Regions from separate parts of the Homo sapiens genome. Here all the other regions are linked to region 6. Evidence: promoter capture Hi-C in human tissues and cell types (Jung and others, 2019). All regions are on one chromosome and are shown on one strand. The core of a region is centred on a gene start or on the middle of the fragment in contact, and the rest is flanking DNA. Distances in the headings are between cores, read along the strand shown.

What was found. Contacts are between HindIII fragments. The study calls those that stand out against the background at their distance.
Region 1: a contact is called between the fragment with the promoter of BAIAP3 here and the fragment with the promoter of RHOT2 in region 6, in 2 of the 25 tissues and cell types used here (dorsolateral prefrontal cortex and lymphoblastoid cells).
Region 2: a contact is called between the fragment with the promoter of TPSD1 here and the fragment with the promoter of RHOT2 in region 6, in 5 of the 25 tissues and cell types used here (H1 embryonic stem cells, dorsolateral prefrontal cortex, liver and 2 more).
Region 3: the fragment with the promoter of IFT140 here is called in contact with the fragment with the promoter of RHOT2 in region 6 in 1 of the 25 tissues and cell types used here (dorsolateral prefrontal cortex).
Region 4: the fragment with the promoter of NPRL3 here is called in contact with the fragment with the promoter of RHOT2 in region 6 in 1 of the 25 tissues and cell types used here (lymphoblastoid cells).
Region 5: the fragment with the promoter of UNKL here is called in contact with the fragment with the promoter of RHOT2 in region 6 in 1 of the 25 tissues and cell types used here (dorsolateral prefrontal cortex).

The regions. Positions count from the first base shown.
Region 1 is chr16:1,332,309-1,335,174 of GRCh38, reverse strand. It overlaps BAIAP3 (BAI1 associated protein 3), which reads right to left and starts at 1,530. Exons shown (of 34, transcript NM_001199097.2): 1 at 1,426-1,530. RefSeq lists silencers at 1,481-1,640, 2,376-2,576. The HindIII fragment of the contact is 17,320 bases long and covers 171-2,866 here.
Region 2 is chr16:1,254,623-1,257,322 of GRCh38, reverse strand. It overlaps TPSD1 (tryptase delta 1), which reads right to left and starts at 1,254. Exons shown (of 5, transcript NM_012217.3): 1 at 961-1,254; 2 at 636-807; 3 at 261-526. The coding sequence starts at 1,042. The HindIII fragment of the contact is 12,300 bases long and covers 1-2,700 here.
Region 3 is chr16:1,610,784-1,613,648 of GRCh38, reverse strand. IFT140 (intraflagellar transport 140) reads left to right here and starts at 1,577. Exons shown (of 31, transcript NM_014714.4): 1 at 1,577-1,681; 2 at 2,796-2,865. It overlaps CRAMP1 (cramped chromatin regulator 1), which reads right to left and starts at 1,289. Exons shown (of 21, transcript NM_020825.4): 1 at 992-1,289. RefSeq lists enhancers at 393-893, 894-1,394, 1,783-1,842 and silencers at 773-932, 963-1,082, 1,103-1,632. The HindIII fragment of the contact is 16,182 bases long and covers 1-2,865 here.
Region 4 is chr16:137,326-140,029 of GRCh38, reverse strand. It overlaps NPRL3 (NPR3 like, GATOR1 complex subunit), which reads left to right and starts at 1,357. Exons shown (of 14, transcript NM_001077350.3): 1 at 1,357-1,388; 2 at 1,696-1,880. The coding sequence starts at 1,763. RefSeq lists an enhancer at 1,428-1,477 and a silencer at 1,698-1,927. The HindIII fragment of the contact is 17,392 bases long and covers 1-2,704 here.
Region 5 is chr16:1,413,343-1,416,215 of GRCh38, reverse strand. UNKL (unk like zinc finger) reads left to right here and starts at 1,512. Exons shown (of 15, transcript NM_001372107.1): 1 at 1,512-1,601; 2 at 2,161-2,370. The coding sequence starts at 1,525. RefSeq lists enhancers at 313-886, 887-1,461, 1,462-2,036, 2,037-2,611 and silencers at 1,108-1,177, 1,228-1,347, 1,888-1,937, 2,368-2,517. The HindIII fragment of the contact is 21,408 bases long and covers 1-2,873 here.
Region 6 is chr16:666,882-669,409 of GRCh38, reverse strand. RHOT2 (ras homolog family member T2) reads right to left here and starts at 1,278. Exons shown (of 19, transcript NM_138769.3): 1 at 1,174-1,278; 2 at 999-1,057; 3 at 841-922; 4 at 711-754. The coding sequence starts at 1,210. WDR90 (WD repeat domain 90) reads right to left here. Exons shown (of 41, transcript NM_145294.5): 40 at 2,421-2,505; 41 at 1,580-1,978. The coding sequence ends at 1,821. RefSeq lists silencers at 811-900, 1,001-1,100, 1,161-1,500 and an enhancer at 886-1,567. The HindIII fragment of the contact is 52,780 bases long and covers 1-2,528 here.

The DNA.
Region 1 (2,866 bases), core at 281-2,780, 670 kb before region 6:
CAGCCCAGGGTGGGGGCGACTTGCCCAGAGCCCAGATGTGAACCTGGGACTCTTAAGCCAAGCTGTCTCCTGCCAGGCCATTTGGGGGCTCAGGGTTGGGGGCAGTGAGGCAGCTGAGTCTGGGGGCAGCGGAGCAGAGGCTGGGTCAGCCTTCCTCCCCAGTGCAGGCTGTCTAGGAACAAACGCCTTCAACGTGTTGGGGGCGCCCTTCTTACCACATTTGGGGCAGGGGGTTAGCTGATGGTGCCCTGGGTGTGTGCCTGGGGCGGGAGGTGGCAGGACATCTGCCCCACAGGCTGGCTCTCCACGCTGCCCTCTTGGTCTTCTCTCCAGCTTCCCTGCTCTTCCTCCCTCAGCCCCCCGACTCCCCTTCACCAGGCCCTGGGGGTTTCCCGCAGGAATCTCTCCCTGGTCTCACCGACTCCTCCAGATGGCCCCTGCGAAGCCGATGGCGGTGCCCAGGTGCAGGTCACCTGGCGGGCCCGCTGCAAACGCTGCTCCCCGGGGTCTCATTCCAGTCGAACCCCGGGAATCTGCATTCTAACAAGCGCTGCCGGTGGCCTTGGGCTCCCCGAAGCCTCAGACGGCTGCCAAGGTCCAGCCGCTGGCGCCCAGCAGGAGCGCAGGAGACCGGAGCCCGAGGCGCCTTCTTCCTCCCCTCGCCCGTGTCTGCGCAGCGCTCCCTCCTCCCTCTGCTCACCGACCCCCTCCCTGCCCCGCCTCGCGGCACCCCCTTTCCCGGGGCCCCGGGCGCCCGCAGGAGCCACACCCCCAGTTCTATGGGGGTCTCTCCCCTCGGAGGGGGCGGGCGGTCCGGGGTGAGTCTGGGGGCGGGTCTAGTGTGTCACTTTAAACTCCTCCCCCGGAGACCCCGGCCCAGGCAAGAGCCCACAGCCCTTTGCCGAGTGGGGCTGAAGGAGGGGCCGCTTTGCACTCGCAGGGATTTCGGGGGGACTAAAGGGCCTTACGAGGACCTGCGGGAGGAGGGAAGGGACGAGGACGCTGGGGGGTGCAGCCCGCCCGGGAGGGGTGCTGGGAGGCCCCGGGCCCGTCTGCTCCCCCGGGGAGGGAGGCGCGGGGGTCGAAGCCTCGCTTGGCGGCTCAAGTGCGGGGGAGGCCGTCGCCAGCGCCCGGATACCCTCCCCGTCCGCTCCGCAGTGCGGACCCCACCGCCGCACCCTCTCCTGCGCGTTCGGAGGGGAAATGCCCCCGAGACCCCGCCCCTCCAAGCATGCGCGGCCTCAGTTTCCCCAGGGCCGAGGGGACGTCGAGACCTTCCCACCGCCCCCCGCCTCGGAGGCCACCCCCGTGCCTCCTGGGGGACCCGGACCAAGGGGGCGGCGGCCGTCGGTCCGTCCGGGTTGGGGCGCGGGGCCGAGCCCAGACGGCGGCCCAACAGCACTGGCCGCAGCCCGCGGCACTTACCGTGGGCCGGCGCGGGGATGGGGGGGCTCCTGGGGCGCTGCGCTCGGCACCAGCTCGGGGACGCCGAGGCACAGCTACCGCTCCCAGCCGCGCGCGCCGACGACTGAGCAACTGCTGGGCGGACGCCGCTGCGGGGGCGGGGTCTGACTGGGGGCGGGGCCGGGCCTGACCGGGGCGGGGCCTGACCGCGCTCGCCCCGCCCCCCGCGTCCACGGCGCCTTAGGGGACCCGGCCGGGGTCTCCGTGCCTTGAGCCGGGCCGGAGCCCCCTCCCCCGGGATGCGGGGCTGTGAGTCAACCCACAGGTGGCTGCGGGACGGGGAGCGGGCTTGGCTGCCTCGGGACCCCGCCTGGCCGCGCGCGCCCTCCCCGTGGCGCGTGGGGTCTAGAAGGGGGTGGTCGGCGGGGTCTCCTCCGCGGACCCCAGGGAAGCCACGGTCACGAAGACCAGCAGCGGTGCAGACCTTTCTGGAAGGGCCTGACTCAGGGACACCTCGCGGGCCCCGCCGCTCTCTTCTCGGGGCGGGGATGCGTCCTGCAGGGATCCACTCGGGACGCCCCACGCCCACGCGGACGGTCTGTGGGGCGATCGTCCCTGGGGCTCTGGTGAGGGCCCAGTTGGCGCTTGTGGGGTCACAGCCGGCCAGAGCCCCCGGAGCCCCTGGGGTCTGCACTGGACCCCGCCAGCCCCTCCCGGGTGGCTCCCCGCTCTTCCTCCGCTGCGCTGTCCTGGAACCCCAGCGGGCCCGCGGTCTCCTGCAGGGTTTGTTAAGGCATTGATGGGTCCTGTCCCCAACCCGCTGGTCCCGAAGTCTGGGTGGGGGCGCGATCTGCGTTTTTTCCCTTTTTTTTTCAGACAGAGTCTCGAAAAAGCTCTCAAAAATAGCTCTCAACCAGGTTGGAGCGCAGTGGCACCATCTCCACTCGCTGCAACCTCGAACTCTCCGGCTCAAGTGGTCCTCCCGCTTCAGCCTCCCCAGTAGCTGGGACCACCCGCCGGCTAATGTTTTTTGGTTTCTTTTGTGGAGATGGGGGTCTCCCTATGTTGCCCAGGCTGGTCTCAAACTCCCAGGCTCAAGGGATCCCCCTTCCCCGGCCTCCTAAGGCGCTGAGATCACAGGTGTGGTCCCCACGCCAGCCAGCGCCTGCACTTCCCAGCTCCAGTCTGCTGCCGCCAGTCCAGGGACCACACTTTGAGAAGTCCGTGCTAAGCATGGTCCTGTCGGGGGCCTGAGGCTCTCAGACTTGCCGAGGGCGCAGCGGCCCCCCGGTCGCACCTGCCCTTGGTCGAATACAGCTGGACACTCGCAGCCCTTTGGGGACAAGGGGTGGGGGGTGGTCAGACTTTGGAGTTTTCACCCGAAGGGCACCTGGGCAGCCCAAGGCCAGACAGGCTTCCAGAACACAGCTCTTCAAAGGGAGGGGGCCCGTCTGCCAACAAC
Region 2 (2,700 bases), core at 5-2,504, 590 kb before region 6:
CTTTCAGGCAAGGGGAAACCGAGGCACGGAGGTGCTAAGGGACTCTCCAAACCCCTGGGGTGGGGGACGCCCAGGCCCTTTGGACTCACCGTCTCTGCTCAGGGCACCTGCTGCCTCTCGCCACCGCCTGCTCCATCCATCCTGGCCTCCACAGTCCCCCTCCCTGAGCCGCCCTGAGGGACCCTGTCACCCCACGGACTGGCCTGTGGCTGTGACTTGGTGCCCACCTGGCCCGGCCTCCCGCTGTCCCCAACACCCACCATTATTGTCCACGTCGCCCCAGCCAGTGACCCAGCACGGCATCCCCGGGGGGAAGGTCTCCGAGGCAGGGGGCAGCGTGACCGTGTGGATGTGGCTGGAGATGTTCACGGGCTCCTCCAGCTCCAGCAGGGCGATGTCCGCCCCGGTCTGGATGATGTAGAACTGTGGGTGCACGATGATCCTGCTGACCGGCAGCAGCTGGTCCTGGTAGTAGAGGTGCTGCTCCCGCAGTTGCACCCTGAGGGCGGCCAGATCCTTGATGTCCCTGGGCAGCGGAGGATCCCACTCAGGGCCCTGGGCAGCCCCCAGGAGCACCCGGGAGCCAGGGCTCACATCCAGCCCTTGCCCACCCCTCCAGGCCCCAGGAGACTCACGGTTCCACGCAGTGCGCCGCGGTTAGCACCCACTGGGGGTGGATGAGGGAGCCCCCGCAGAAGTGCATCCAGTATGGGCCGCGGACTCTCAGGCTCACCTGCCAGGGCCACTTGCTCCTGGGGGCCTCCTGCCCCCCAACAATGCCCGTTTGCTGCAGGGCCTGGCCTGGGGCTGGGGCAGGTGCCAGGTCAGGACCAAGAAGCCGCCCCACGCCTGGGACCAGCCCTTCCCTGTGTGGGGGCCAGCCCGGCCTCCCCAGAACCCACCCAGGCCCTGATCTGTGGAATGTGGTGAGGGGCAGGGTGGACCCCGGCTGGGACTCACCAGGGGCCACGTAGGCCGGGCTCGCCAGGACGGGCAGCGCCAGCAGCAGCAGGCTCAGCATCTGGGGAGCAAGGAGGAGCATCGTGGGCCTGGCCGGGCCTCACAGGGCAGGGCTGGGGGCTACAGATTGTGGGGTGAAGAATGGAGCTGGGACGGGGGGACCGGGGTGGGTCCAGGCCTGCGGGCCTGGGTCTTGGTGCTCTGAGTCTGAGGCTGGGCCACTCTGCTCCAGGTGACGCTGATGTCAGGGTCTCTGAGAGTAGGGACTTACCCTGGCCACTCCCTGTTCCTTCTACCCAGCGGGCTCTCCCCTCCCCATTTATGCTTCCAGATCAGGAGGGGGCGGAGGAGGGGCGCTGGGTCCTCCCATCCAGACTCGGAGGAAGTGGATGACTCAGACCCAGGGCCCCCGTGTAACACATGCCCCCGCCACCCCGATGCCCTCTGTGTGTGGGGCTGCCAGGCAGGCCCCGCCGAGGGCTGAGCACTGGAGGCTCGCAGCTCCACCTGTCAGCTGGTGGATCCCAGCACTGGAACCCACCACCTTCCCGCTGGTGGGATCTGCTCCTGCCCCTGTCTCGGTGCCAGGAGGCCTTCAGGCATAGCTGCACCCAGGTGGCCTGGCTGCCCCAGGCTACAAGACCCGTCGCTCCTGAAACCTGTTTCCCCAAGAGGGACACGGGGTGAGGAACTCATGTCCATGGGCCACCCTCCAAGAGACGGGAAGGTGCCCACGGGGTGGGGACATGACGGGTGACACCCCTCCTACGGACTCCGAATCCACGGGGGTGGGGCCAGCCCTCCTCGACTCACTTGGTTGGGGGCTCACATGAGACCCCTTTGTCAGATGGGGAAACAGCCTTGAGAGGGGACAGCACCAAGTGTCCTCAGCCAGGAAGGGGCCCTGCTCCCCACCTCCCGTATGAGACCCAAGTCCTCCAACGATTCCTCAATGTCCACCTCTGGGGCTGTCCGTGCAGGTCCCCTGGTCTGCAGGTGCCTTCTTATCATGGGATCTGAGCTTCATCCGCAGAGGGAAGGGCAGACAGGAGTGCAGGTGCAACCCCAGGAGACCCAGCCCAGCTCCCCATGGACTCACCCCCAGCCCCAGCCCAGCTCCCCATGGACTCACCCACAGCCCCAGCCCAGCTCCCCATGGACTAGTCCCAGCCCCAGCCCCAGCTCCCCATGGAGTAGTCCCAGCCCCAGCCCCAGCTCCCCATGGACTCACCCACAGCCCCAGTCCAGCTCCCCATGGACTCACCCCCAGCCCCAGCCCAGCTCCCCATGGACTCACCCCCAGCCCCAGCCCAGCTCCCCATGAACTAGTCCCAGCCCCAGCCCAGCTCCCCATGGACTAGTCCCAGCCCCAGCCCAGCTCCCCATGGTCTCACCCCCAGCCCCAGCCCAGCTCCCCATGGACTAGTCCCAGCCCCCGGCCCCAGCTCCCCATGGACTCACCCCCAGCCCCAGCCCAGCTCCCCTTGGTCTCACCCCCGGCCCCAGCTCCCTGTGCTCTCCATCCCATTCAGCGCTGACACTGTCCCTGCAGCTCCGTCCACCCCACCTCCTGACTCACCTGGGCCTGTTGGTCACTGGGGCCTCCAGCCCACCTCCTCTGCTTCTGAGCCCCAGGACCCCCTGCCTGCCCCCCGACCCCCAACACAGGGCCACTCCGGGGCTCCTCCTGCCCCCACCCTGCCTGGGACCAGCCTGGTTTGAGGCTGACTCTGCACTGCG
Region 3 (2,865 bases), core at 328-2,827, 940 kb before region 6:
AGTGACTAAAAATGCTGCAGCCCAGAAAGCAGAGCCACTCAAAAATAAACTCAGACAATCAGGTACACAGCAAGAGCTGCAGCCCAGAAACAGTCCGGGACGGGCACGTGTGAGGAAGCAAAAACGCTGAAGATTAGATTCCTCAGCAGATACTGACCCTGCGTTCAACTCAACTGTTGAGAACGGGGGCATTTCCACTTCAAAGGAACACACGATCGAGGCACCAACACCAACCACGAAATACAGGGACGCGGGCGAGGACCTCTCTTTCCGAGAGATCGGGAAATGGCTTCAAAGTCGCAATGATGCCCCCACCCTGAGGTGCAGATCACACAAGGATCCGTGGCCGTTTTCTCCTGTCGGAATTGGTCTAGGGAATCTCGAGTTCATGCTAGTTTTAAAAAAAACTCTGCCAAAGAACAAAACCACCCACGACAAACACCCCAACTTAAGGGATTTCGTGGCAAGACTTCCCACTCTTCCCCCTCAACCCACCTCTTTCCACTCAAGAAACCTAAACCCCCAAAGACCTCGTCTCGGGCTGAGAACCCCGCTGCCCAGGGACCTGTCCGCCCGCAGGCCACCCGGGACCCAAGCAAAACAAACTCGGCCACCAGAGTGAACTCGCCCGCTCGCCGGGCTCCACACCCAAGACGCCGACCGAGCACGGGGAAGCGCTTTTCGCCACTGAAAGGACCGACGCCGTCCAGACTTTACCCTAAGGGCCAACAAGCAGGGGGATGGCCTCCTTTTCGCGAGAACCTCCAACGAGACCGGACTTTTCTCGGAGGCGCAGTCTCCTCCAGCCCCGTCCCGCTCCGCACCGGCTCGCGTCTCGGGATGGGGACGCAGAAGCCTCCTCGCCCTGAGGCCAGTTGTGGCTGTACCGGGCGCTGTGGAAGCGACGCCCCCCCCGCGCTCTCCCGCGCCGCCCGACAGGACCCCCCGGCCGGGCCTCGCCATGACAGCCCCGCCGCCCAGCCTTGGTCACCTTTTTCATCAACGCCGGGCGGCAGCCTGGCTTCCCGGGGCCTCCCCGGGTGCCCGCAGAACCAGCCGGGCCGGGCAGCCCCGGCCCCCGAGCGCCGGCTGCAGGGAGGCCGCAACGCCGGGCTGGTCGTCCGCCTCGGAAGCGACTGGTCGAGCGGCGCTAGCCCCGGCACGTCCCCTCCGCGGGCCGGCGCGCGGCTGCGGGGGCTGCGGACGCAGATACTGCCGCCACTCACCCTAGCGAAGCCGGCCCGCCGCCCTCAGCAGCAGTTCCGGCTACGGCGGCCGGTGGGGACCTCACGGACGGCGCGCGGGGGCGGGGCCGGGGTGCGCGGGCGCGCGGGGCGGGGCGACGAACGCGGGGGCGAGCACCCCCAATGTTTCTTCGGGCCCGTCTCCCCAAAACGGCGCTCCCATTGGCTAGCGCTGGGCGGGCGCGCTCGCACGTACGAGCCCGGTGGGCGTCGGGGGCGAGCCCGCGGCGCCAGTAGTGTTGTGACGCCAGCCTCGCGACCTTGCGGACTGTGCGTCTCTTTGGATTGGTGGACAGACAGCCAATAGGCCAGGGCCCGTGCTGTGATTGGCCGCAGCAGTGTTGACGGATACGTGAGAAGAAAACGGCGTGGTAGCTCGGAGTGTGGAATCGGGCGCGAACCTGAGTTCTGAGAAGTGTGGAAGCACGTCTGAGGCAGTTAAGCGCACCCTTTCCTGGGTGGAGTATGTGCTTCTGCGCTACGTTAGCGTAGCCGAGCGGCGCTGGGCACTTGGTCATTTTCTTCATAGCAAGAAAGCAGAGGGGTGTTTTTCAAATTCCAGTGTTTCTTTCTTTCTTTTTTTTTTTTTTTGAGACGGAGTTTCGCTCTGTCGCCCAGGCTGGAGTGCAGTGGCGCAATCTTGGCTCACTGCAAGCTCCGCCTCCCAGGTTCAAGCGATTCTCCTGCCTCAGCCTCCCGAGTAGTTGGAATTACAGGCGCGCGCCACCATACTCGCTAATTTGTGTGTTTTTAGTACATACGGGGTTTCACCATGTTGGCCAAGCTAGTCTCGAACTCCTGACCTCAAGTGATCCGCTCGTCTCAGCCTCCCAAAGTACTGGGTTTGCAGGCGTGAGCCACCGCGCCCGGCTCAAATTCCAGTGTTTCTTTTTCTTTTCTTTTTTTTTTTTTTTGACTCGCTCTGTCGCCCAGGCTGGAGTGCAGTGGCCCGATCTCGGCTCGCTGCAGTCTCCGCCTCCCGGGGCTCAGGCGATTCTCCTCCCTCAGCCTCCTGTAGCCGAGACTAGAGGCGCCACCGCGCCCGGCTAATTTTTGTAATTTTTTAGAGACAGGATCTCGCCTTGTTGCCAAGGCTGGTCTCGAACTCCTGGGCTCCAACGATCCGCCCGCCCCAGCCCCCAAGAGCTGGAAGCCCAAGCGCGAGCCCCGCGTCCGGCCGCCAGCTGCTTTCTTGGGGGCGCTCCCTGCCTCGCTTGGCTCTGTGGAGTCCGGGGCCCGGCGATGGAACAGGCCCTCAGTCACCCAACACCTCAGGACACTGCCGAGCGCATCGACTTTCCCAGAAACGCTTGACCCACGCCCTCCGCTCCGAAACTAGAAAAGCGGAGCCCAGGGAAGGCCTGGGCCGAGACCGCCGCGTGCTGGAAAGGCTCCGCCTCGGGATGCACGGGAAGGGAACACGCCCAGGAGGGGAGGATGCCGCGGTTGATCGGGGCTGTGACAGCGCGCCCTCCACACAAAGGGGACCCAGACGCCGGCCCTGCGCCGCCGTCTCTCCTAGAAAAAGCTCGTCCCGCTTCTCTCTTGCAGAGCGGAATAACCTGGCCCCCGACGCTCGGGCCTCGGAGCTGCACGTGCGTGCCCGATCGCCTTCGGCTCT
Region 4 (2,704 bases), core at 108-2,607, 530 kb after region 6:
GATATGTAACTTACAAATATTTTCTCCCGTTCTGTGGGTGGACTTTTAATTTTCTTGATGGTGTCCTTTAAAGCACCGAAGTTTTTGTTTTGTTTTGAGATGGAGTCTCGCTCTGTCGCCAGGCCAGAGTTCAGTGGCACGATCTCGGCTCACTGCAACCTCCGCCTCCCGGCTTCAAGCGATTCTCCTGCCTCAGCCTCCCGAGTAGCTGGGATTAGAAGCAGGCGCCGCCAAACCCAGCTAATTTTTGTATTTTTAGTAGAGAGACGGGGTTTTACCATGTTGGCCAGGATGGTCTAGATCTCCTGATCTCATGATCTGCCCACCTCGGCCTCCCAAAGTGCTGGGATTTCAGGCGTGAGCCACCGCGCCCGGCCGCAGTAAAGTTTTTAATCTGATGAAGTTTAATTTATTCTTCTGTAGTCGCTCCTGCCTTTAGTGTCACTGCCTCGCCCAAGGTCTCAAAGATCTCCTGTCGGCTTCCAAGTGTTTTTTTTTTTTTTTTTTTTTTTTGAGACGGAGTCTCGCTCTGTCGCCTAGGCTGTAGTGCAGTGGCGCAATCTCGGCTCACCGCAAGCTCCGCCTCCCGGGTTCAAGCGATTTTCCTGTCTCAGCCTCCCGAGTAGCTGGGATTACAGGCGCCCGCCACCACGCCCGGCTAATTTTTTTTTTTTTTTTTGTAGAGACGGGGTTTCACCATGTTGGCCAGGATGGTCTCGAACTCCTGACCTCGTGATTCACCCGCCTCGGCCTCCCAAAGTGCTGGGATTACAGGCGTGAGCCACCGCGCCCGGCCTTTTTTTTTTCTTTTTTCTTTCTTTCTTTCTTTTTTTTTTTTTTGATACGGGGTCTCGTCGCTCTGTCGCCCAGGGTGGAGTGCAATGGCGTGATCTTGGCTCAATGCAACCTCCGCCTCCCGGGTTCAAGCGATTCTCCTCTAGGATTACGGGCGCCTGCCACCACGCCCGGATAATTTCTTCTAATTTTTAGTAGAGATGGGGTTTCACTATGTTAGCTAGGATGGTCTCGATCTCCTGACCTCGTGATCCGCCCGCCTCGGCCTCCCAAAATGCTGGGATTACAGGCGTGAGCCACCGCGCCCCGCCCAAGTGTTATTTGTAAAACGAAGAAACCAACATCGAGAGGGACGCTGACTCGACCCCGCGCCTTTCCCATCCGCACCAGCAAGAGGGGCCCCTGTGCCCCAAACGCGAACCGTACGGCTCCAGACAGCACCGCGGAACTCGGTGGCTTCCAGAAGGCCCCGCGCCTGCGCATTCCGCTGCCTGCGCCTGCGCCTGCGCCTGCGCCGTTCTCCCGGCCGCCGCCTTAGCACCTCCTCCGGACGGTGTCGCCGAAGTCTCGCGAGCCCGGAGCGTGGCACGTGGGTTGGTAACTGTGGCGCTGCTCCGCGTCCACCACCACCCCTGTCCTCCTCAGGCCCCCTCCGCCTCCACCCCTGCCCTCCTCAGGCCCCCTCCGCCTCCACCCCTGCCCTACTCAGGCCCCCTCCGCCTCCACCCCTGCCCTCCTCAGGCCCCCTCCGCCTCCACCCCTGCCCTCCTCAGGCCCCCTCCGCCTCCACCCCTGCCCTCCTCAGGCCCCCTCCGCCTCCACCCCTGCCCTCCTCAGGCCCCCTGCGTCCCCGCCTCGTCCTCCTCAGGCCCCCTCCGCCTCCGGCTCCGTCCTCCTCAGGCCCCCTCCGCCTCCGGCTCCGTCCTCCTCTGGCCCCCTCCGCCCCCGGCCCCGGCCCCACGGCGGGATGCGGGACAACACCAGCCCCATCAGCGTGATTCTGGTGAGCTCGGGGAGCAGGGGCAATAAGCTGCTGTTCAGGTACCCCTTCCAGAGAAGCCAGGAGCACCCGGCGTCCCAGACAAGTAAGTGAGCGCTGGGCGGGGGCCTGGCGCTCGCGGGGGCCGCCTCATTCCGGGGTCGCCTCATTCCAGGGCCGCCTCGCGGAGCTTAGCTTTTGCTGGGCATTCGAGATCTGCTCGTTGTAGAGTATTTGAAAAGTAGAAAAAGGAAAAAAAAAATTAAAATCATGCATTGTTCACCACACCAAAGCAACTACTGCTGACATTTCATCAGTCTCCAGCCTTTAAAAAATAAAGTAAAATAAAATAAAATGAGTTTGGGATGTATTCATCATGAGAAAATACAAAATTACACGAACAAGGCCGGTGGCGGTAATCCCAGCACTTTGGGAGGCCGAGGCGGGTGGATCACCTGAGGTCAGGAGTTCGAGACCAGCCTGGCCAACATGGTTGAAACTCTGTCTCTACTGAAAAAATAAAAATAAAAAAAAACAAATTAGCCGAGCGTGGTGGTGCGTGCCCATAATCCTAGCTACTTGGGAGGCTGAGGCAGGAGAATTGCTTGAACCCGGGAGGCGGAGGTTTCAGTGAACCGAGATCGCGCCACTGGATTCCAGCCTGGGCAACAGAGCAAGACTCCGTCTCAAAAAAAAAAAAAAAAGTTACGTGAACATCTGAAGTTGTCTTTGCCACCCCCAGTTCTAGCAAGCACAGGGATCACCCCTGGCCGTGTTGGGAGTTGTCTGCCCTGTGCATAGATGCAGATCTATCCACAGGAAAAGGGAACGTCGCGTGAGGTTTTTCATCGCACGAATTGTTCTGTGGCGCCCTTTTCCCATAGTCGGCCTTGGAGCTCCGTCTGCCTTTGCAAGCAGGGATCAACCTCA
Region 5 (2,873 bases), core at 263-2,762, 750 kb before region 6:
CACTCCACTCTGGGCAACAAGAGCAAAACTCCTTCCTCCCCCCGCCCCCCGCCAAAAGAAAAAGAAAATGTGAACCTATGAAGAAATTTATCCTACCAGCAAATGATAGTTTTTGTTGTTTTACAGTATTAATATTAAAAAAAACCCTGAGATACTTGGAACAAATCTGTAGGAAGTGATTTGCTTTCAACCTAAATGGGCCCATTTTTCTTTTCGTTTTTTTTTTTTTTTTTTTTTTTTTTTTTTGAGACGGAGTCTCGCTCTGTTGCCCAGGCTGGAGTGCAGTGGCGCGATCTCGGCTCACTGCAAGCTCCGCCTCCTGGGTTCAAGTGATTCTCCTGCCTTAGCCTCCTGAGTAGCTGGGACTACAGGTGCCCACCACCACGCCCGGGTAATTTTTTTTTTTTTTTTTGTATTTTTAGTAGAGACGGGGTTTCACCGTGTTAGCCAGGATGGTCTCGATCTTCTGACCTCGTGATCCGCCCACCTCGGCCTCTCAAAGTGCAGGGATTATAGGCGTGAGCCACCGCGCCCGGCCAATGGGCACATTTTTCATATCACTAAAAATTTCTTTTTTATTTTTTGAGACAGGGTGTTACTCTGTCACCCAGGCTGGAGTGCAGTGGCGCAATCTCGGCTCACTACTAAACCTCCGCCTCCCGGGTTCACGCCATTCTCCTGCCTCAGCCTCCGGAGTAGCAGGAATTACAGGCGCAAGCCACCACACCCCACTAATATTTTTGTATGTTTAGTAGAGACGGGGTTTCACTGTTGGCCAAGCTGTTGTCAAACTCCCGAACTCAGCTGATCCGCCGGCCTCGGCCTCCCAAAGTGCTGGGATTACAGGCGTGAGACACCGCGCCCGGCCTCCTACCACTAAAAATTCTTCGGAAGCACTGTTTCAAATCACGCAGAGCACTTAGAGTTTTCCCTTTTCTCAGCTACTGCGCTGTTGGGGGAAGGGGGACCTCAAGTGTTTGCAAAATAACTGTGATAATTACCTTTGTAGATAAATCTCTGAGTATAAGTTTTTGAGGTCAAGGTTCGAAATGGAACAAATTCCTTTCTACAAAGGCCAGGACCCCTTGGCCCTTCCGCCCGGTGCCTGGCTCCCCCTGACATCAGCCTCTTGGTTCGTTTGTGGAAGAGCAGCTCTATTGAGATACAACTCTTGTGATTAATTCATGTAAAATACACGGTTATGTCGGGTCATGTCACAGCAGGGGCGACCATCGCGGGTCCCACGCGCGGCCCCGGGCAGGACCAGCGTCCCGGGCCGGGGGCTGCAGGGCAGGGCAGGGCAGGGCAGGGCAGGGCAGGGCAGGGCAGGGCAGGGCGGGGCGCGGGGCTGGGGCGGGGTCTGCGGGCCGGGGGCGGGGCTGCGGGGGGCGCGGGGCTGGGGCGGGGCCGGGGTCTGCGGGCTGGGGGCGGGGCCGCGGGGGGCGTGGCCGCGGGGGCGCGCGGGGATATCCGGGGGCGGGGGCGCCGGCGCGGCGCATGCGCGCTGCATTGTTTTGACTGAAAATGCCGTCGGTTTCGAAAGCGGCGGCAGCGGCGCTGAGCGGGTCCCCCCCGCAGACTGAGAAGCCGACCCACTACAGGTCAGCGCCCGTCCGGCCTGCGGCCCCCCGCCCGCGCCCGGTGCAGCTCGGAGCCTCCCGCCGGGGCTCGCGCCGCCTCCGCCGCCCCCGCGCCCCCCGGCCTCCGCGCAGCGCCTGGGCTGGGGGGGCCACGACCCTCTGCTCTCGGCGGCCTCCGCCTGAGGTCGGAGCGCGGCGCCCATGGTCTGGGATGGCACCTGGTTCCGGGGTCCACGCGCCTCTGGGGAGGGAGGAACGCCCCGGGGTTGGGGGTTGCGCCTGGGCTCGGGGACCGGGACCCTCTGCTCCGGCTGCCGACCGTGAGGTCACAGCGGGTCGCCCAGGGTCCGGGGTGGCGCTTGGGCTTGGGGACCAGGGTCAGCGCCTGGGCTACGAGGTCGGGTGAGGGTCGCGTCTGGAGTCGGGATGGGGGTGGGCGCAGCGCCTGGGGCCCGCCGGGAATGTGAGTACGGGTCGACCCTGGGTTGAGGCTCCTGAGGCCGGTGGGTCCCGCCGCCCACGAGTCCGAGTCCCTGGAGGTGCTGCCGGAAGCGAGCCGCGGCGCTGTCTGTGTTTGTAGGTACCTGAAGGAGTTCAGGACGGAGCAGTGCCCCCTGTTTTCACAGCACAAGTGCGCGCAGCACCGGCCGTTCACCTGCTTCCACTGGCACTTCCTCAACCAGCGGCGCCGCAGGCCCCTCCGCAGGCGCGACGGCACCTTCAACTACAGCCCCGACGTGTACTGCTCCAAGTACAACGAAGCCACCGGCGTGTGCCCCGACGGCGACGAGTAAGCGGCCGCGAGGGGGCGCCGCTGCCTGGGCGGAGGTGGGGGGCCTCCACCCGGGGATGCGGCCGGGACCCTCAGCGGACGCCTTAGTGTCCATACCTGGCCCCTGCAGAGGGAGTCGTAATTATACGCTGAAATTTTCTAGTGACCAGGGATGCTGGGGCGGCATTTCCTATTCTCAGGCCAGTTCCCGAGGGATTATGTGTGTTTTAGGGGTAACCCTTGTGTGACTCAAACCAATTTTGCTTCACCTCCCACTTTTTTTTGTTTGTTTTTTGAGACGGAGTTTCACTCTTGTTGCTCTGGCTGGAGTGCAATGGCATGATCTCGGCTCACTGCAGCCTCTACCTCCCAGGTTCAAGTGATTCTCCTGCCTCAGCCTCCGGAGTAGCTGGGATTACAGGCATGTGCCACCATGCCCAGCTAATTTTTTATTTTTAGTAGAGACAGGGTTTCTCCATGTTGGTTAGGCTTGTCTCGAACTCCCAACCTCAGGTGATCCA
Region 6 (2,528 bases), core at 29-2,528:
AGCCTTCCCTAAAACCTGCCTCCAGCCTGGTGTTGGCAGAGCAGGCACTCCCCAGTGTCACACTGGGAGCTGCTGCTGAACCCTCAGAGAAGCCTCTTCCCCGCCCACTGCCAGTGCAGGGACACCAGGCCCCAGAAGCATAACTGTGGTCAGCAAGACCCTTGGAGCAGAGGGCTCAGGACAGACACGGCCACACCTGCAACCCAACACCCTGCAAGACAGCCGCCGCCTTGGCCCCTGCCTCCCCCCTCGCTACAGACAGAGTGACAGGACCGCAGTGAGGGGTGCCAACAGCAGGGGCTGCCCTGGGTGGCTGTGGCCTGTGCCCTTGCCTGGAGATGTCCCCGGCACACGTGCTCTGGTACTGGGAGCTCCGGGTGCCCGGAGGCCGGGACGGTGGGCTGGAGCACACAGCACGGGGACGTGGCGCACACAGAGCCCACAGGAAGAGCAAACGCTGCTGCCACCCCGGCAGGAGGGAGGGAGAGCCCGCGGGGAAGGGTCCTGTTATCCCTGGAGCACCACTGGACTGAGCGGTGCCGGCTCCCAGCGGGGTGCGCTGTAGGGGCCCCGACAACCCTCAGTGCGGAGGTCACAGAATTATCAGGGCCAAGGACACCCGGAGCACCTCGGTCCAATCCCCCAGGCTGCGAAGCGGATTAGGCCGAGCCCGCGCCCAGCCCCTCCCTCGTCCCGCGCACCACGGGTACCTTGTGGATCTCCTCCCGCAGCTCCTCGTCCGTCTGCTCGGCTTCTAGGGGGACAAAGAGACTCCACTGCGGACCCAGCAGGCCCGCCGGACCGCTGCGGGCCGGGCCCCCGGGAGGCTACGGCCGCTACCTGAGTAGTCCACGATGTGGGTGGGCACCTTCTCCGGGGTGACGTCCGCGGGGATGGTGATCTCCTCCGCGCGGGGAGGGACCTGCAAGGGACCCGCGCGCTCACCAGGGACCCCCGGCTGGGCCCGCTCCCACCCCCGCGGCGGGCGTGCCCCTTACCTCCTCGGGGAACTCCTCGCCCACCAGGGACAGGATCAGCGACGTCTTCCCCACCTGGGCTGCGCGGGGCGAGGCGGTCAGCGCGAGGGCCAAGGTCACGGCGCCCCCCGACCCCCGAGACCCTCACCCCGCCTCACGGCCGCCGCAGCTCCGAGACCCCCGGGCCGGCGCCTACCCTCGCCCAGTAACAGGATGCGCACGTCCCGCCTCATAGCTGCCGCCCGGAGCCGCTCCCCGACCCGGAACCCGGCCCCGACCTGGTCCTCAAGCCTTTCGCTCTGCCCCCGCGCCCGCCCCGCACTTCCGGTTCTCGGCCCCGCGCTGTCCCCACACTTCCGGCCCCGCCCGCACAGCCGCACCAGCGAGCCGGGCGGGCCAGAGCGGACAGGCTGTGCGGCGCGCCACCGTGTGGACGCGCCGGCCACGGCGGACAGCGCAGGGTCCTGGCGCCCTGGCAGGCCGAGCGGCCATTGCTTCACGGCACCACAGGGGCCTTGACAAACAGCCGATTAAGGGACGGGCAGAGGCTGAGCTCAGGCCAGGAGTGACCAGAGACAGCCAGTGCAACAATGCAGCAATAATGCAATAAATGCCCATGTTTATTACAAGATAGAAACATTAAAGATTTCTTAGGCAAAAGGGCAACAGGTATGAAAGTATTCACAGGGCGCCAAATTTACAACAGCTTGCTCCAGGCGATTTACGTGAATCCTGGCCTGTCCCAGCATGAGGCCATTGACAACCTGGCGCCTCTGCCAAGCCTGTGTCCAGGTGCCTGGCATGACCAGGCGTGATGCCCACCACCACAGTCCCTGCTGCATCTCAGAGGCCGGGGACCTCCCACACAAGGATCTCGTTGCGGGCGGCCGTGAAGAGCAGCCTGGCGGACGGTGTAAACCTGCACAGGTGCACTGCGTTGTCGTGGCCGGCAAAGTCTTGGGCAGTCCCCATGGCACAGTCTACCAGCCTCAGCATGCACTCTGTGGGTAGACGGTGCAGGTGGGCCAGGGCCAGGACCAGGCAGCACTCAGAGGGCTCCCCCAACCCACCCAGACTGTCCCCACTGGGCATGATGCTGGTCGGGGGAGCTGGTGCTAAAAGGGCTCCTGGCTGTGCCCTCCACGTGCCACTGGGACTAGGGGGTCCATCACTGCCAGGCTGTCGGCCTGCAGCTGGGCCAGTTCCCTCCTTAAAAGTCGCTGCCACCCGTGCATTCAGGCCCTGTGCTGGGCGCTGTGCCTGGTTCCTCACCTGCCTCATCATCTCCTGACTCCAGGACCCTCTCTAGGGCAGATGTCCTCACCCCACCCCAGAGACGAGGAGCCCGGGGCACAGGTGAGGCACCTGTCTTGGAACAGGGCACCAGTCAGCCCACTTGGCCCCCACCTAAGACAGGCCCAAACTGCATCCACCAGCACTCACCAGCAAAGCCAACAGCCAGGAGGTGGGTCCCGGGGGACAGGCTCAGGGACATGGCAAAAAAGGGCAGTGGTATCTTCTCCACCACCTGTGAGCAGCCAGCGTGAGGCT